Regions from separate parts of the Homo sapiens genome. Here regions 1, 3, 4 and 5 are each linked to region 2. The links are contacts of gene promoters, found by promoter capture Hi-C in blood cells and fetal thymus (Javierre and others, 2016). All regions are on one chromosome and are shown on one strand. The core of a region is centred on a gene start or on the middle of the fragment in contact, and the rest is flanking DNA. Distances in the headings are between cores, read along the strand shown. Region 1 overlaps POGK (pogo transposable element derived with KRAB domain). Region 2 holds the start of TMCO1 (transmembrane and coiled-coil domains 1). Region 3 holds the start of GPA33-AS1 (GPA33 antisense RNA 1). Region 4 holds the start of STYXL2 (serine/threonine/tyrosine interacting like 2). Region 5 has its middle 24 kb from the start of TADA1.

Evidence for each region. The method cuts DNA at HindIII sites, captures the fragments that hold promoters and counts their contacts. A CHiCAGO score of 5 or more calls a contact.
Region 1: a contact is called between a fragment that was not itself captured here and the fragment with the promoter of TMCO1 in region 2, in 1 of 17 cell types (M0 macrophages). The highest score is 5.1, in M0 macrophages.
Region 3: a contact is called between the fragment with the promoter of GPA33-AS1 here and the fragment with the promoter of TMCO1 in region 2, in 1 of 17 cell types (M1 macrophages). The highest score is 5.7, in M1 macrophages.
Region 4: a contact is called between the fragment with the promoter of STYXL2 here and the fragment with the promoter of TMCO1 in region 2, in 1 of 17 cell types (M0 macrophages). The highest score is 7.0, in M0 macrophages.
Region 5: a fragment that was not itself captured here is called in contact with the fragment with the promoter of TMCO1 in region 2 in 1 of 17 cell types (M2 macrophages); the score reaches 6.1 in M2 macrophages.

What each region holds. Positions count from the first base shown.
Region 1 is chr1:166,846,921-166,850,521 of GRCh38, forward strand. It overlaps POGK (pogo transposable element derived with KRAB domain), which reads left to right. Exons shown (of 6, transcript NM_017542.5): 4 at 574-672; 5 at 2,018-3,503. The coding sequence ends at 3,489. Among named protein-coding and RNA genes, the nearest start is that of POGK, 9.2 kb to the left of the region's middle. The HindIII fragment of the contact is 883 bases long and covers 1,692-2,574 here.
Region 2 is chr1:165,767,263-165,770,954 of GRCh38, forward strand. TMCO1 (transmembrane and coiled-coil domains 1) reads right to left here and starts at 1,606. Exons shown (of 7, transcript NM_019026.6): 1 at 1,420-1,606; 2 at 930-1,007. The coding sequence starts at 1,489. TMCO1-AS1 (TMCO1 antisense RNA 1) reads left to right here and starts at 1,667. Exons shown (of 3, transcript NR_125374.1): 1 at 1,667-2,113. RefSeq lists enhancers at 1,217-1,893, 1,894-2,569. The HindIII fragment of the contact is 3,297 bases long and covers 1-2,076 here.
Region 3 is chr1:167,051,168-167,054,933 of GRCh38, forward strand. It overlaps GPA33-AS1 (GPA33 antisense RNA 1), which reads left to right and starts at 1,518. Exons shown (of 6, transcript XR_922249.3): 1 at 1,518-1,599. GPA33 (glycoprotein A33) reads right to left here. Exons shown (of 7, transcript NM_005814.3): 7 at 1,669-3,299. The coding sequence ends at 3,167. The HindIII fragment of the contact is 1,060 bases long and covers 567-1,626 here.
Region 4 is chr1:167,091,558-167,095,468 of GRCh38, forward strand. It overlaps STYXL2 (serine/threonine/tyrosine interacting like 2), which reads left to right and starts at 2,518. Exons shown (of 6, transcript NM_001080426.3): 1 at 2,518-2,637; 2 at 3,277-3,402. The coding sequence starts at 3,293. The HindIII fragment of the contact is 6,143 bases long and covers 1-3,911 here.
Region 5 is chr1:166,898,363-166,902,354 of GRCh38, forward strand. It overlaps a transcript of ILDR2 not described here. Among named protein-coding and RNA genes, the nearest start is that of TADA1, 24 kb to the left of the region's middle. RefSeq lists an enhancer at 3,634-3,992. The HindIII fragment of the contact is 4,008 bases long and covers 263-3,992 here.

The DNA of each region.
Region 1 (3,601 bases), core at 883-3,382, 1.1 Mb after region 2:
CGGCAATCCGTGCTGCCTCAGAACTGCCCCCATTCAACCCAGGCATTCACATTTAAGGATAAAAACCATGTAACCTTAGAAATGTCACCATGGATCTGGGCCTGTGCCTCACTGTTCCTTACGAGAGAAGGCAGGCGTTAATGTTACCCTGTCAGCCTCAGAAGTTTGGGGACATACCCTCCCAAAGACTGTTTGCTCCTCTCCCCAACTTCCACCCCAAATTGATATCACACATCTTATCAGCAGAATGTAATCATTTGAAGAGATTTCCCAGTTTGCTTATACAGGTACCAAAATGTTAATTGGATCAGCAGCTGCATTCACCCTTCTCCCTGCTAAATGCAGTTCTTTTATTGTTGGTGCCAATACCATCCCTCATTAGGAGAGATCTACCCATTCCTTTAGACAGACCTATTTTCCATTATCTTTTTTCTTTAAGTATCCCTGAGCCTTTTTCCCCTTGTTTTTCACAAAGAAGGGGAGAGTGGCTCTTAAGTATTTTGAAGTACTTATTTTGGTAGTGCTCCAGGACAGTAACACACAGCTGTTACCTATTTTATTTCCTATAAACAGAATTCCCATTCCCTAAGCCAGACATGATCACCCGTTTGGAAGGGGAGGAGGAGTCTCAGAATTCTGACGAGTGGCAGCTCCAAGGAGGCACCTCTGCAGGTACTACAAGTAAAGCAGTTCAGCGTCCATCCAGCTGGGAACATTGTGGAGTGGGATTTTCAGTGTACATTCCACGGGGTATTTAAGAGGTAGAAGGATTATGGGTTTTGGAGTTTTGAAATCTCCCTCTTTGCAGTGCTAAATGTGTGACAGTGTGTGACAGGCAACTGCTTTTACCTCAGAGCTTCCATTCTTCCTCTATCAGCTCTGAGTAACAAGACTTGATGTATGACCTTGTTTGTGGATGAAGCAAAATGAGGCTTGTGCAGCATTTGGTCTAGTGCACCTTCTGGCTGAACAGGGCTCCCTCAGTGGCGTACCATGTGCCTCTGCAAACTAAGAATAGTGAGAGGAAGCACACTTCCTGAGTTACCTGGCTCCCTGTCCATCTCATACTGGATAGAAAAAGCAATAGCAATCATAGCATACATTTGAGCAAATGTATCTAAGAAGTACCTAGTCCTTTGTCAAGAAAAATGGTTATTGAGGCCACAGTTGAATAAATATAGCATTGCCTCCAGACGGCCAAAATAGTTTTATCTTTTCTCCGGAAGTAAGAGTTTAAAATGCCATATTTCACTGACTCTGAGACATGTTTTTCTCCCATTGCTTTACTGTTTCTGAAATTGAGAATGCCTCTTAAAATCAGTGGCATGTCATAGCTTAATTAGTAGTGTTTTCTTTCTTAATGGCACATAATGATGCATCCTACAACTGATGACATTTTAGTTTGGGTGAGATAGGGTAATTTCCCCAAATCATATTCAACTTCTGTGACCACCTTCTAAATATAAAGTGAAACCTGGTTGCACCATTAATGTGCAAGAACTAATTTTCTGCCTTATAAGCTTAACTTTGCTAAGTGTGGTTTTTGCTGTAGGTTTTCTTGGTTCTAAAGGGATATGATTCAGGCCATGATGCATCTCTGTAATATTATATGGTAGTATGGTTAACATTTGGCTTCTCATTCACATAAAAAGTATTTTGATGCAAACATGGCCCCCAAATTATTTGGTCCAAGCTTGGTTCCTCTGTTGAGTTCCCAGCTCTGCCACTTTCTGGCTTGGCTACCTTGGTGCATTATGTAACCTCTGTAGCCTCCCCTTCTTCATCTGCAAAGAAGGAACAGTGATACTTAGAGTTACTCTATTAAGAGAACTAGGTGTGGGTAGTCCACATAAATTGGCATATGGAAAAGGACTTAGGCAATGTTACCTGTTATTAAAGTTACTACTTTTGGTGAACTTCAGATTAAGGTATTCTTAGCATTTCAACCCCCAAAAATCAGGGTATAAGCCATTTTACTTACTGGCATTATTTTTGCCCCTCACTATTTGTCTCCCAGAAAATGAAGAATCTGACGTAAAGCCTCCAGACTGGCCAAACCCAATGAATGCTACCTCCCAGTTTCCTCAGCCTCAGCACTTTGACAGCTTTGGCCTCCGTCTGCCTCGGGATATCACAGAGCTGCCCGAGTGGAGTGAGGGGTACCCCTTCTACATGGCCATGGGCTTCCCAGGGTATGACCTCTCGGCTGATGACATAGCTGGGAAGTTTCAGTTCAGCCGGGGCATGCGCCGCAGTTACGACGCAGGGTTCAAGCTGATGGTAGTGGAATATGCTGAGAGTACCAACAACTGCCAGGCTGCCAAGCAGTTTGGAGTATTGGAAAAAAACGTTCGAGACTGGCGCAAAGTGAAGCCACAGCTTCAAAACGCCCACGCCATGCGGCGGGCATTCCGAGGCCCCAAGAATGGGAGGTTTGCTCTGGTGGACCAGCGTGTGGCCGAATATGTCAGATACATGCAGGCCAAAGGGGACCCCATCACCCGGGAGGCGATGCAGCTGAAAGCTCTCGAAATCGCCCAGGAAATGAACATTCCAGAGAAAGGGTTCAAGGCAAGCTTGGGTTGGTGTCGAAGAATGATGAGAAGGTATGACCTGTCTCTGAGGCATAAAGTGCCCGTGCCCCAGCACCTGCCGGAAGACCTGACTGAGAAACTCGTCACTTACCAGCGCAGTGTCCTGGCTCTGCGCAGGGCGCATGACTATGAGGTAGCTCAGATGGGGAATGCAGATGAGACGCCCATTTGTTTAGAGGTGCCATCACGGGTAACTGTTGATAACCAGGGCGAAAAGCCTGTCTTGGTCAAGACACCAGGCAGGGAAAAACTGAAAATCACAGCAATGCTTGGTGTCTTGGCTGATGGGAGGAAGTTACCACCGTACATCATTTTGAGGGGAACATATATCCCCCCGGGGAAGTTTCCCAGTGGGATGGAAATTCGCTGCCACCGGTATGGGTGGATGACTGAAGACTTGATGCAGGACTGGTTGGAAGTGGTGTGGAGACGGAGGACAGGAGCAGTGCCCAAGCAGCGAGGGATGCTGATCTTGAATGGCTTCCGGGGCCATGCCACAGATTCCGTGAAGAACTCCATGGAAAGCATGAACACTGACATGGTGATCATCCCAGGGGGTCTGACCTCACAGCTTCAGGTGCTGGATGTCGTGGTCTACAAGCCACTGAATGACAGTGTGCGGGCCCAGTACTCCAACTGGCTTCTGGCTGGGAACCTGGCGCTGAGCCCAACCGGGAATGCTAAGAAGCCACCCCTGGGCCTCTTTCTGGAGTGGGTCATGGTCGCGTGGAATAGCATCTCAAGTGAGTCCATCGTCCAAGGGTTCAAGAAGTGCCATATCTCCAGCAACTTGGAGGAGGAAGACGATGTCCTGTGGGAAATCGAGAGTGAGTTGCCAGGAGGAGGAGAACCACCAAAAGATTGTGACACCGAAAGCATGGCTGAGAGCAACTGAAGGGAAAGGGAAAGGTAACCACTCAGGAGTAGATACTCAGTGCCTTTGCTGACATGTCTGTGTTCTACAAACACCTTCTCTCCATTATTTTTCTGTTTTTAAGTTCCCTTAG
Region 2 (3,692 bases), core at 356-2,855:
AAAGTTATATTTAATCCTTATAAGGAAAAAAAGAAGAGAGAAAACTAAATCAGGCCTATAAGGAACCATTCACCCTGTACCTTTAGCTGAGTCCTGTGGAATTCCTGCTTTATTTCAAAGGTAACAAACCCTTCTTGTTTTTAATCTTTTCCTTAAACACCTCTTCAACTTTCTAACCCAACTGAAACTCGGCTTATCTCTGAAGACACCACTTACCTTGACACCAGTCATAATGACATATCATCCTCCAAACATGCCTTAAATGTTAAGATTTCCATATTTTTGCTCATATGTTATTTCTTTACCTGGAATTTCCTTTCCCCATTTCATTCTCTATCCAAATTCTAACTATCCACAAGGAACTGCAAGGCCATCAGCATCATGAAGGCTACCATGGTTCCTCACAACTGAATGAAGCCTCTTCTTCTTTTTTTTTTAAAGACAAGTCTCACTATTGCCCAGGAGGCAGTGTAGTGACACCATCGTGGCCCACTGTAGCCTCAATCTCCTGGGCTCAAGGGATCCTCATGCCTCAGTCTCCCAAATAGCTGGGACTATAGGTGTGTACCACCATACCCAGCTAATTTTTTCTGTAGGGACGAGGTCTCCCTATGTTGCCCAGGCTGGTGTCAAACCCCTAAGTTCAGTCCTGCCTCAGCCTTCCAAAGTGCTGGGATTAACAGGAGTAAGCCACTGCGCCAGATTGAACCTCTTCTTTAGAACCACCACAGCACATAACATGTATCTGCTACGCCCCTCACTTCCCTCTAGTTGGTATTACACATTTTGCATAAAAGTCTTCTATTTCTAAATAGGCTTCAAGTCAGGTTCATCTTTGTATCAGCTGGTGCTCTTAAAATATTTATTGTGAACATGGACTTAATGAGCTTGACGTGTTGAAATTATTTCTAATGTGTTGCCATACTCACATTTTTTACTCTGTTTTTCCACTTCTGCCTTCAGTCTCTTGTACTTGTCTGTCCTGTAAACCAGGACCCAGGTTATGCCTAAAACATTAAAAGCAACATGTTAATAGAGAAATGACTGGAATGATCACAACAAACAAAGTGGTTACTGTTGGAGAAGGAGGAATTCCAACTTTTCGCTTTGTATTTACCCATAGTTAACTTTTTTCAAAGGCTAATACAACTGACTCTTCAGCCAAAACAACAGTAACATGATGTGAAGGTGTCTCCACAAATACCCAAGTGAAATCTACCTGAGACCAAAGAAAACTCGGCAATCGACTCCATACTCCCCTCCTGCTCCTGTTCACGAGTTGCCCAGAGATTCCCTGAAGTGGAGTAGATGAGCCTCTCAAGCAAGTAAGGCTCGCGATCTTTCCCCTGGTGGCACAGGGGACCCCGGGGCCCTTCCTCCCGGGGACTGATCAAACGTCTGAGAAATACCCGCTCTCACCCTCTGCGAGCAGAGCCGTGCACACAGAGATAAAAACGATGAGGAGAGTGTCCGCGAACATAGTGCTCATCTCGCACCTTCGTCTCTGCACTCTCACCCGCCAGGGGGAAAGCGCTCTACAGCCAGGAAAAGTGAAGCGAAAACGGCTTCCGTAGACTCCGCCACCACCGAGTAACAGACCAACTCTGACAGCCCGAAGATCGCACTTCCGCTTCCGGGGCATAGCACCGGAAAGGCTCGTATCGGAGAACGGTGTGGCCACGAGAGTCTAGAGGAAACCAACCCGCAACTCACTGGAGCTGAAGGGCTGGTAGTCAGGCCGAATCTCGCGAGAATTGGAACTATTTCAGAGCCAGAGGAGGATAGTGGCGGCGGCGAACTTTGCCCGGTAGATTTTACTGACTGGGGTGCTGGCGCGCGCCTTTTTCTCGGCCAGAATCCAGTTATTGGGATAGTCTTGACTTCTACCTCAGCCCAACTTCTGTGGTCGTAATATTAGTTTAGCTTGGGTTTGCCGTGAAGTAAGAAGACTGACTTCCGCAAAGGTACTGAACGACTGGGTGTAGGTGCCAGGGCATGGACGTGAAGCTGGAACCGCGAAATGAGTTAGTTGTGGGCCGCTGGCCTCAAGGAGCGAACGTCAGCGCGAAGAGGAGAAGCTTGTGCATACGCTCTGATAAGGGTTTTAATAGAGGTATTACCACAGTGCTGCGTGACACGGTTGAGAGAGTGGTCAGAAGAAGCTAATGAAAGGAATTGAAGCAGTGCCTTAGGGGAGTAGGAGTACTTTTGGAGATAGCAAAGGACTTTCTAGGCAAAGTGGAAGTCAAAGCACGGATGCCTGAAAATTCATAGTGTGATAGTGCAGTGAGTAATGTATCTAGAGAAGGGGTCTTAAACCCAGATGCCTAGACTGGCGAGAGAAAATAAATTATCTTATGCAAGCTGAGCCTAAACAAATGGTGGAAGTTACTACGATGGATAAGTGAGCATTAAGTTCATCTGAAAGGAGAATTTGATACCCAAATCCAACCCATTTCTCTAGGAGAATGAGCACCCAGTTTCTGAGATGTCTTCGTTTCTCAGGAAAATCCAGAAATCCTGGGTTTTATGTGAAACTTAATTTATAAGTGTTGCTAACTAATTAAAATTCAAAAATGTCTCAGCAGCGTGGTTTCAGCCATTGTAGACGGTTTCAGCTTTTTCACACTGGGGTGTGTGTGTGTATGGGTGAAAACCTGGAAGCTGGCTGAGCTGTATCCTCTTGTACTTCCTCCTATCATTGGTGTTTTTTTGTTTGTTTGAGATGGAGTTTCACTCTTGTTGCCCAGGTGGAGTGCAATGGCACAATCTCGGCTCACTGCAACCTCTGCCTCCGGGTTCAAGCCATTCTCCTGCCTCAGCCTCCCAAGTAGCTGGGACTACAGGTGCCCGTCCCCACGCCCAGCTAATTTTTTGTATTTTTAGTAGAGACGGGGTTTTGCCATGTTGGCCAGGCTGGTCTTGAACTCCTGACCTCAGATCCACCCACTTCGGCCTCCCAAAGTGCTGGGAATACAGGCGTGAGCCACCGTGGCCGGCCCTCATTGGTTCTTTTAAACTGTACTGCACTTAAATATATAATTCTCCTAAACACTACTTTTGACTTTTTTTTAGCTTTATGTGCATTTCTTGTCTCCCAGACTTAGCAACAGAGACCCTGTCTCCTTTTTAAGAAACATTATTGAGCTTCTACTATATGTCAAGAACTGTGGTAGGCACTGTAGGGTCAAAAGGATGGTTAAGAGAATATTCCTGACTTCTAAGGGCCCAGGGAGATTATATAATATAATAAGATTATAGGTATTATAGAGGTATTCTTAAAATGTTGAGGGGGTACAGATGAAAACAAGATGTATTCTTCCTGGGGAGTTGGAAAGGTTTCAGAAAGATCATATTTGAGCTAGACCTTTATTTGAGCAGTTCAGACAAGGATAGGTTTTTATTCACCTTTGTATCACCCAAGGTAAGTGCTGAGATAACAATAAGAGCATGATCTTGGAAATCAGACCTGATTTTAAATTCTTGCTCTGCCACTTACTTGACAGCAGTCCTAGAACCTATTGTTTAGCATCTTTGAGCCTTCAAAATGGTGGTAACATCAGCTATGAAGACTGGATGAGGAAAAGTATATTATAAAGCATTTCAAGCAGTGCTTGGCACACACAATTCATCAAATTCAACATGCTATTCATTGTAAGACGCATCATTATTTTATCTACTACTAAAGAGGA
Region 3 (3,766 bases), core at 268-2,767, 1.3 Mb after region 2:
AAAAATAAATAAATAAATAAATAACAAGATCCTGAAGAGTGGCTAATTTACCAAGCTGTGTATCAGTTCATGGATTCCTCTCTGGGCAGCCAGAGTCCCTCCTTAGGTGATAACATGAACACCTAACATTGGCATATGCCCAAGTATTTGAAACTGCGAGTGGGGATTATATGGAAAACTGTCTGAAGTGCCTAATAAGGGTTTATAGTACACAATCTTCCCTCAATTAATGGGTAGCATTTGTCTCTCTTCTAAAACACCATAAAGTCTTTGAACCAGCAGCTGGAAACCATAATTTGGGAAGGGATGCCTAACATTCTAAGGAGACTGCATTGCTGGGCTAATTTTGATTGTATAAGAACCTACAACAGTCCAATTCCCAGAGTCTGTGGACCGAAATAAATTCAGCAGGAAACTGTAGTCTTACTGAGTGATAATATGATTTGACACCCAAGTAATAGAAACATGCATTGGAGGACAGAAGAAATGTCAGCACCAGCCCTTTTCCACTTGTAAAACTCCTCATTCTTCTTCAAGATGCAGCCCAAATGCAACCTCCTCTCTGAAGCTTTCCTGAACTCCCTTAGGCTGAGTTACTCAGGCCCTCCTGTGTCCTGTAGCCCCTTCTCTTGCTCATGTAATTATGTTTCTATGTCTGTGACCGCCATTAGATTTTAGCTCCTCCTGAATAACAGTTTCTTAGTGACTTTTATATACTCTGCAAACAGCACACTGCTTGGCACGTAGTAGATGCTCACAAAATATTTGTTGTTGAATTAATGCAGTGGGTCTCGATTTCCCTCCTTTTCTTCCCTAAGCCTGGAGCTAAGGCAGGTGAACCTTCAGAGTCCTTTGAGGGGCAGAGAGAAGTCAAGTCAAACCTGGGGGAAGGTGGCCGCCTCTGCTTCCGTGGCTCCCTCAAGAACATGCTTGTGGAACCTTGCACCGTGAGGACTGGAAGGCACCTCAGAGTATCTAGAGAGCTAGGAGATGTCCTTGGGCAAGATACTGTGATACCAAATGTTATTCATTTAACAAACCTTTGTCAAGGGTCAACACATGCCAGGCCATAAAGAAGCTACAGTTCCTATCCTTACAAATCATACAGGGTGAGGCAGAGACAGACCTGTACACAGGTATAATAGGCACACAGTACTGTGTGACAAGTGCTCGGACAGGAGGGAGCACAGGAAAGGACACTGAAGAACAGACCTTGAATATCTCGCAGGAGAGTCCATGTCAAAGCCAAGAGCCCACAGCGGAGCGAAGTTGCCTTGGAGGAGGAAGCGTCACAGTTCTCTGTGACAGAACAAGAGGACTGCCCCGCCCCTTTCTCAGAAGGGGCATCATAGGAAGCAGAACTGGCTAGAGCATCTCCACCATCTTCCTTCAAGCACGTGGACCGACACCCAGGCCTCCTGGTGTCCTGACACTGCAGACTCCTGGAATATACCTCCACCAGCAGGCAGGAATCTGTCCTATTCCCAGCAACCACTAGAGGCACTGCCTGACCCTACTGCGGCCACAAGCAGAGGGACCCCAGGATTCTCAAATCTGTTACCTTGTCTCACCTCCCCTAGGAAGCAGAAGAGTGCTATGGTGAGTAGAGATGATCCATGAGACCCAAGCTTTATCTTACTGCAAACAAAATCCACATTAAAAAAGAAATAAGAATTTCCACCCACAATTTTATTATTACTGAAAGCATTTGGAATGAAGCAAAGGATTTAACAATATATATAAAAATATACATTTTTTAAAAAATCGCAAGTAGACAATAGATTTATGGAATTATTTTTCTGATCATCCAGAAAAGATAGCAATAGTAAACTGCAGTTGGGTGAGACCAGCCACTGGTCCATGAGACCTAAGCAGCCCTAACGCTGCCTGAGCTCTCAAGAGTAGAAGAAATGCTCGACAAACAGAAGGAGGCTGTGGGAGGGCAGCAGGACAGCCCCACCAGAAAACCAGAGCCCAAATGGGCTGGGCAGGGCCAGGGCTGAGGTATCGGGATGCAGGAACAACCAGGAACCCCATGTGGGTTGAGGAGACATGCCAATTATTCTGGCCTGGAGAGGAATTACCAGGACACAAGAACTCAGACCATCTGCAAGCAAGCTCCCTTGTGTGTGTTCACTTTAAATCAATTCGTGTTTAACTCACTGAATGAATACGTGGGTTTGGGTGGGAATCATCCCTGTGTCTACGATCATCTCAAGGAGACCAGAGAAGGGAAGGCACAACCAATCAAAGCAGTTTCCCCAATTAAGCTTAAGTGCCCACTAGGATGGGCGCCAGCTACTAGGGCTTCAGGGAAAGCAAAAGCCATGAGGCCCAGGCCCTGCCCCAAGGAGCTGGCGCTCTAATACAGTGAGAGCACTCGCTCAGAAGACTGTGCCTTGTGGCCCATGATTGGACGTGGGACAGAGTAACAGGATTGTTTCCACGTATGTGGACAATTAGGATAGGGTTAGAGAAATCCTTGTGATTTGAGATGGGCCTGGAGGGACAGGTACGATATTGACAGGCAGAGATGGAAAGTGTGTGGGCAAAAGCTCCCCAGGGCCTGTGCAGCAGGAGTGGGAGGTGGCCTTCCCAGGAGGGTTTGGAACATACTGGCAGCTACGGGAAGTGAGGTTGGAAAGGGAGTGGGAGCTGGAGGCCAGGCCAATGCAGGGCCCAAGCATACTCACTTATTCTTTCATTCATTCAAGAAAGATGTGTGGAGTGCAAACCCTCCACCTGGTGCCCCTCCAGGTGCTGGGCACACAGGTGAGCAGGACAGCCCCCACCCCCCAAGGCTGGCATCGCCTCCCTGGAGAGTTCTGAGTGGGAGCGCCCCATGCTCAGCGCTGTGCTTCCAGGAGCTCCTGCCAACTACGAGGGAAGTGGAGGCTGCAGCCTGGTCTTGAGTGAGGGCCAGGCCCGCACCAGGTGTCACAGCCAGGAGGGGTTACTTCACAGGACAGTGAGGTCAGCAGGATCAGCACAGGGACCCCCTTACCAGGCCAGCCATGTTCCCCACAGCTGACACTGGGGAAGAAATGTCCCCATCAATGTCTGGGATGGAGGGACAGGAGAACAGGGCTTAGAAAGGAGAAGGGAGGCCAGGAAGCGGGAGAATGAACCCCTAACCCTTCCTCCGCCGCCCTCTGCTGCTGGCCTGTCACTGGTCGAGGTGGTCCGGGGATTCACGCCCAGTGCTCCTCTGCTCTTCTTGCCTGTAGTCATCCTCCTCCTCCCTCTCTCTGGAAAGTTCTCTTAGCTGCTCTGGTGGCTCCTCATAGGCTTCCCGGTTCCTGCAGGGCAGCAGGGGACAGAGGGGAAGGATTTGCTCTCAGGTGGACCCTCAAGGGAGCTGGGCCTCATGTGCATTACAGGAAGAGCAGCCTCCAGACCTCCTCCCCACCCACCAGCTGCAGAGGACACTGGGCTGAAAGGCTGGGCTGAGAGTAAAGGTGCCACAGACTTGTTCCACGCATGAGCTGAGGGGGTTACAGGAACAGGCTGGCTTTACCAGCCCAGGAGGAACTGGCCCCGTGACAGGGGCTCCAGGCCACACTTGGCTCTAGTCATGCCACAGGAAGCCCGGCCCTGAGCTCCCAGACTGGAAAACCACAGGACTGGGAGGCAGGTCCTGGGGCTGCAATGCACATTTTATGGCTTGGACAGGTCATTGTTTCATCAGCACAAAATGGGGGTGATATACCCCAAGGGGTGCTGCAAGTAGAAGAGGCTGTGAGGAATTGGGAAGCATATTTCCAGT
Region 4 (3,911 bases), core at 1,268-3,767, 1.3 Mb after region 2:
CTAAGTGAACATGATATCCCATGTATATATAATTTACTTTTTAAAATTATTAGTGAAATTTGGCCAGGCGCGGTGGCTCACGCCTGTAATCACAGCACTTTGAGAGGCCAAGGTGGGCTGATCACGAGGTCAAGAGATCGAGGCCATCCTGGCTAACACGGTGAAACCCCGCCTCTACTAAAAATACAAAACATTAGCCAGGTGTGGTGGTGTGCGCCTGTAATCCCAGCTACTTGGGAGGCTGAGGCAGGAGAATGGTGAACTCGGGAGGCAGAGCTTGCAGTGAGCCAAGATGGTGCCACTGCACTCCAGCCTGGGCGACAGAGCAAGACTCTGTCTCAAAAAAAAAAATTATTAGTGAAATTGAAAATCTTTTAATATAGTTGCACATCATATATATTTTCTTTTCTGAGACTAGGTAGCTCATTTGCCCGTATTTCTTTTTTTAATAAATTTTTAAAAATATAGACACAGAATCTCGCTACGTTGACCAGGCTGGTCTTGAATTCCTGGGCTCAAGCAATCCTGCCTCAGTCTCCCAAAATGCTGGGATTACAGGCATGAGCCACCACGTCCAGCCGTTTGGCCATATTTCTATTGAGCTGTTGATCTTTAGCTTGTTGACTTCTAGCAGATCTTTGTATATTAGGGAAAGGAACTTTTGGATGTGATAAGCATTGCAAATATTTCCCCTAGCATTTCTTTGTGTTATGAATTCATAGTATCCTACATGACTTATTGTTATTAATCCTTTTGACTGCTAGGTTTGGTTGACATACAAAATTTGTTGTTTTCTGTTTATTACATTTCACTCAGGCACCTTGTTAATTCTCTTATTATATGTAATAATTGTTCAGCCCCAACATTTTATAATATCTTTGCCAAATTAGTCTTCCTAATTACTTGTCTGCTTGGGTCCTATCACTGACTCTGCAGAACCTAACAAATTAGCTTTTAAGGTATTCTAGCATTTGTTCTCAAACACAGTCTACCTTCCAGAATACGTAATTTATGCTCTGACCAAGTTAGACATATTTTCATACCCAGAACTCATACTTCCTTACCCCCAAAACTTTATTGATGCCACCCCCTCGGTAATTCCCTTCCCCTACTATATCTGCTATTATAATCTTACTTGTCCTTTAGAAGTCAGCTCATATATCACCACTGCTTCTATGAAGTCTTTCCTGATTTCTTCAGTCAGAAGGGCTCTTTCTCACCTTTGAACTCACACAGCACTCTGGATCTCTTTTAGGACACTAACTACATTCTCTCTTATGCTTGAGTTATTTTTGGTCTGTGTCTCATTCCTCCTAATAAACAGTGAGCTCATTCATTCAGCCATTTCTAATGATACGATATACCAGGCATCATTCCACCTAACTAGGAAGAAAGACAACTTTAAGCTATGTGTTTTGCCAATTTTGGTCAAGTAAAGTGTCATATGTAGTAGGTAATCAATGAATATTTTAAGTTGGTAAATGGATGGATAAATGGATGAAAGGATGACTATGGTATGTGTGGGATGAGAGGTGTGGGCTATTTGGCTTTGCTTTGATCATTGTGATGGTAGAGGGGTTAGTAGGGTAAGACAGCTTATTTGACATTTATGAAGCTCATGGAATTCTTAAGTCACCCAGGGTTGCCAATCCATTATCACCTTGGGGTGTGAGTAGAGGGGAGGAAATGTGGAGGGTGAGCACAACTGTCCAGTTGACCATCCTGAGACATGTCTATTAAAAGAAATGCAGGCAGGGCACGGTGGCTCACACCTGTAATCCCAGCACTTTGGTGGACGGAGGTGGATGGATCACTTCAGCCCAGGAGCTCGAGACCAGCCTGGGCAACACAGTGAGACCCCATCTCTACAAAAAATTTAAAAATTATCTGGGTGTGGTGGCATGTGCCTGTACTCCCAGCTACTCAGGAGGCTGAGGTGGGAGAATCACCTGACCCTGAGAGGTTGAGGCCGCAGTGAGCTGTGATGGCACCACTGCACTTTCACCAGGGCAACAGAGCGAGACCCTGTCTAAAAAAAAAGAAAAAGAAATGTAATCCTGGTCACAAGCAATGACTACTCTTTAATTGTACCACAGTGCTCTCCCAATATCTATCTGTTGAGTACCCTTTCCATTCTATATATCTGGTCCTTTTTTTAGGCCTCTCTAGTTGACATGCGGCTGTGGTAAGTTTGTTTATTCTTCTATATCTTTGGATTTAGACTCTCTTCTGGAAGAACTTTGAATAGGCTGTCCCAGGCAAGAGGGTCTGAAGAGAGAACCCAGAGAAAAGCTGTTCTTTAGATTCTCCATCTACCAAGCACAAACGTCTTCCAATTCTGCTGCTAAATGTAAGCGTCTGGAGAATCAGCCAGGAGGGAAAGAGTTAAGTGAGGACTGCTTTGGGGCCTGGGTCCAGAGCCTGCATTCCTTCCTCCCAGAAATCTGCCAGCCTATGGGGCCAGAGGCTAAATTTAGAGGGTGGCTAAGGTTTCCTGTTAACAGCTGTCCTGCCCCTAGGAGAAGAAGCCCTGAGGAAGGAGGTGGCTGGTTCCTGTCTCACTGGCCGGAGCTTCAGCTTCAGTCATTTCATCTGGGTCCCTCAGCCCTTGGTGGGGAACATCCAGGCAGGTTAGAGGTGAGTGTGCTTCTCCCCTTGTCAATCCTGGTGAGCCCAGGACTTACAATACAAGGGGCAGCGGCTTTGCCCTGAGTGTCAGGGCACAACCATGATGGCTGGGACCAGCTGCTGGTATCCTTCATGTCCTTTAATAGGCTCCAGGATGACGCCTGAGCCAAAGGCCCTACCTCCTGTGGCCTTGGTTAGAGACACCGAAGGCCAGCTGTGTCTTCCCCAGCAGAGACAAAGGTGTGCGCATGGGCATAGGTGAGGGGCGTGTGTGTATGCACATCCTATAATTTCAACTGAAAAATCTTGCTGGTCCAGGGAAGTCATTGTTCTTCAACTTTTTGAGCTGAGATCAGGTAACCTGCTGGCTCCTCTGCCTGCTCCCTTGCTGACATCTGTGGAAGGAGCCACACTGGCACTTCAATATTGTCACTTCAAGGTGGGCTCCTAATATGGCGGGGTGCACTTCTTGGTGTCCCGGTAACAGTGGCTGGGCCAGGTCTGACTGGATATTCCTTGCTGGTCTTTTGCCCACCGGGACCTTCCTAGTCCTAGTTCCACTGAGGTGACATCACCAACACAACTTCTCCCCCAACAAAACCTCAGGAACCTAATTCCCTAACTGCCTTTTTCTTGCCAAACTTTCAGAGGTTGGCAGGTTGTCATGGCGACCAGAAAGGACACAGAGGAGGAGCAGGTAGTCCCAAGCGAGGAGGACGAAGCCAACGTGAGGGCGGTGCAGGCCCACTACCTCCGAAGCCCCTCCCCTAGCCAGTAAGTGACCACTTATCTCCCACCCTCACAGCCCCAGCTGGGAGGGGCTGGGGACAGGTTGGGCCATTAGCTCCAGGGAGCCTGCAGCCATCACCTCGGTTCACTCATTTAACAAATATTATTGAGTACTTGTATGTGTCCTACTTTCTGGAGGAGGTAAATATGCAAATAGACTGATTGCAATGTGGCAGGTGTGTGCTAGATATTAATATGACCAGGATCTAGTATGTGGTGGACTAGACAATAGGGAAGGGAACAACTGGACTTGGAAGGTCATAGGAGGCTTGGCTGGAAGAGATGATGATGGACCCGAACCTCAGAGGATGAGTAGGAATTTGGCCCTGCTTGATTCAGTAGGACTGGGGCTGGATATGGGGATGACAGGCCGTAGACTATAAGAAAAGGGATGAGGAGAGGAGAAGCCCATGGAAGCATTCCCTAGCACTAAAATAATTTTTTATCCATAATCAAGCTGTGTCTTTTAAACTGGGACATGTGCATGCCTGGGG
Region 5 (3,992 bases), core at 1,017-3,516, 1.1 Mb after region 2:
TGCAGATCATTCTGTGTCTTTGTCTTTTCTACCAAAACTCCACCCCAAAGCTATTCTTTTCTCTTTGTGGTCTTCCCACCCTGGCCCAAAGTAGCTCCCAGAACTCTTCCAGCCTGTGTCCAGCCAAAGGTCCAGAATGGCTGGATAACCAGGTGGCTCAAAGCACACCCTCCCTACCTGGTGTGTAATGTAGCTTCTGCTCTCACCAGTGTTTCATCTGACAATCTTTCCACCTCTTCTGGATAAGGAGGGCACACTCTGAAGCTTTGCATATTATTTCTCTTATCACTTGTACATGATATGACATGATGAGATCATTTACTTTTCTTAATGCCAAAGACATTCATTTTTTTTCCTAACAAATATTTGGGTCCCTAGTATGTACTTAGTGTTAAGGAAACAAAGACAAAAAGGAGGCCAGATGCAGTAGCTGACACCTGTAATCTCAGCACTTTGGGAGGCCAAAGTGGTAGATTGCTTGAAGCCAGGAGCTCAAAGACCAGCCTGAGCAACATAGGAAGATCCCATCTTAAAAAAAAAAAAAGAAATTAGCCGGACATGGTGGCACATACCTGTAGTCCCAACAACTTTGGAGGCTGAGGTGGGAGAATCCCTTGAGCCTGGGAGGTAAAATCTGCAGTGAGCCATGATTGCCCCACTGCATTTCAGCCTGGGTGACAACGCAAGACCCTTCTCTCAAAAAGCCAATAATTATGATAATAATAAAAAGATGAAAAAGACATGATTGGCCGGGCGCAATGGCTCACGCCTGTAATCCCAGCACTTTAGGAGGCCAAGGCAGGTGGATCACCTGAGGTCTAGGAGTTTGAGACCAGCCTGACCAATATGGTGAAACTCCGTCTCTACTAAAAATACAAAAATTGGCCGGGCATAGTGGTGGGCACCTGTAGTCCCAGCTACTTGGGAGGCTGAGACAGGAGACTTGCTTGAACCTGGGAGGCAGAGGTTGCAATGAGCCGAGATCGTGCCACTGCACTCCAGCCTGGGTGACAGAATGAGACTCCATCTCAAAAAAAAAAAAAAGAAAAGAAAAGAAAAAGAAAAAGACACGATTGCTATCCTCAAGGAGTTTACAGTCTGGGGGAATTTGAACATACACGTGCTAACCAAATTCTTTGGTTATGTGATTGTGTAAGCTGTAATTGAGTGTAATCTATTTCACTTTACAAGCTGACAGGAGTTAGCAGATTTAAGATGAGCCATGGGCCTTTTTGCTGTCCTCTCAAGAACTTGTTCATAGAAAAAGCTGGATTTCAGAAAATCAAATATTTCTTCATGTTTTATGGCTCAGTTGATACCAAACATTCAAGCATTTAGATCTGCTTTTAAAATCATTTCAAAATATGTATATATTAGCTTTTTTCAATACAACCCTTCTTCTCCTTGCTCTGGTACTTATGTGAATATCTACAAGAGGGCTAGGGGAAGATGAAGAATTATTTTGGGACAAGCTCCATGAGAGCAGAATGCAAACAGATCTGTAAGAGTTCCAAAGATGGCTACATAGGTCAAAGGACAATGCAAGGATTGGCTCTACTCCCTTGATACTTTGAGTCATTTAAAATCCAGCACAGTTGATGTCATCTGGGAGGCTGCTAGAAATGCAGAATCTCAGGCCCCACCTAAATTGTGCTGAATCCTAATTTGTACTTTCAACAAGACACCCAGGTCATTCAAATGTCAGTATATATCTCTCTCCAAAGTTCCACACTCAGGTCAGCCTCCCAGCCTCTCTTCTCTCTATTGCTACCCTTTCATGACCCCCATGGCAGCCTCCTTCTCTCTATTGCTATCCTTTCATGCCCTCCACAGCAGGCTCCTTCTCTCTATTGCTACCCTTTCATGCTCCCCCCACCCCCATGGCAGCCTCCTTCTCTCTATTGCCATCTTTCATGCCCTCCACCCCAGGCCTGTCTCACCCATCGCCCTCTTCAAAAACCCTGAGTTGTTCATGTCTGTCCCTTTTCCATTTCCCACTATTCTTTTGCTCTCTGATGTCTTTTCTCACAAGCATCCTACCCCCACAAATAAAACATTTCATCTCATTGCACACACTTTGAGATTGCCATAGATAACAAATGCAACAGATATTGAAAAGGTAAAATCAACAGGACTCAGTAATTGCTTGGATAATTACAATATTCTCTAATATTAATTTCTTTCTATGAAGCAGATAGGGTTGTTATCCATATTCAAAGATGGGTAAACCACAGCTCAGAAAGGCTACATAACTTGTTTAATTCACAGACCTGGAAAGTGGCAAAGACGGGATTTGAATTCAGGAGGTCTGACTCTGGGACTTGGACATTTGACTCCTGTACTGGTGTGAGAAAGTAAGAGAAGTCTGTGATGATTCCTAGGACTTATATTAATTACCTGCAGTTGATGAGGCCACCAACAGAAGTAGAAAAAATAGATGAAAGTGTAGAGCTTTTGTTTTGTGGGGTGGTATGGGTAGTTCTAAGTTACCGTTACTTTTATATTAAAACTCCAGTTTATTTCTAAGGTTAAATGAAAAATTGCTTGCTTTGGATTTTCCCACCTTCTCCATTCGACTTTTGTAACAATTTACTCTGATGTTTAAAATCCCTAGACCAAGCTCTTCCTGAAGGAATACAAGATGACAGGTGGAGCACACCAAAAGCACATTCAAAAGCAGAAGCAAAGCCCCAATAGCTTTATAGCTTTGCCTGGTCTCTTTGGTCACCTTCCATTTTTAGCAATCAGAGTTGGTGGCCTGGAAGTATAGTCTGTGGCTACAAGGGGCTCACACTCTGTATATCTAACACAAACTAATTGAGCATGCCTCAAATGCTCCACATTCCCCGAGTTTCTCAGGTTCTTGGCAGCAACAACAACGATTGAAAATAAACTCTGCTCCCTTCCTCTTGGGGGAGAACAGATGGCCGGATCCCCATCAACCTTACAATCACTAGGTCCCTCGGGGTTATTACAAACATTAACTAAGAACTTCTCCTACAGCTCATCTCCATGGCCAACTATGAACAGCTTTTGAACAAGTTCCTTATTCATAGAATGACAAGCAAGAAAGCCCCCCAACCAGAGAATCTGTCTGCCTGGAGAGCAGGTGAGGCTTTGACACCAAGACATTATTCTTGCTGGTCCTCTCCTCTTCCCTCCCTCATCCTGAACCAAGGCTCCTTTTGCCCTCAATGGCACTGTCCCAATTTGTTTTTTTTATATTCAAGGGCTGATTTCTCAAATGTTATAGACGTGACTTCCAAAAGGGAGACAGTTTTAGAATCTTCTGTGATCATTCTCTCACAGGCCAAAAGACTGGATTTCTAAAACACAAAAACCAGGGCCAGCAGGGTTTTATTTTTCTGCCTTCTTCCCTAGTTCCCCCACAAGGCTGCTTAGTCTCATTGGTTGCAGACAGATATCTGTGTTAACAAAATACAGCCACTGACATTCACATTACCTCATCCATGCAGCAGTTTTGTCGTATGGGTCCCTTTGATATTAGGAGTGACCTTCCTCCTTGGTGCCAGAGAGATTTTAGCTGGAGTGCAGTGGCGTGATCTCGGCTCACTGCAACCTCCGCCTCCCGGGTTCAGGCGATTCTCCCGCCTCAGCCTCCCGAGTAGCAGGGATTACAGGCATGTGCCAGCATGCCCGGCTAATTTTTCATTTTTAGTAGATATGAGGTTTCTCCATGTTGGTCAGGCCGGTCTCAAACTCCCGACCTCAGGTGATACACCCGCCTTGGCCTCCCAAAGTGCTGGGATTAGAGGCATGAGCCACCAGGCCCAGCCAGTTTCTTTCTTTTGACAGATGCAAAAGTCTCTCTTTTTCTGTGAGATCCTGGACCTCCTCTGTCTGCCAAGGCTGCACATGTCTCTCTCCCCACTTTACAGATTAGGAAGAAGAAATAAAAAGCTAAAGTGCATAACATAAACTCTGAATCAACCCTTCTTCCTGTCCTTCCCAACAGAACCTGAATTTGCCTG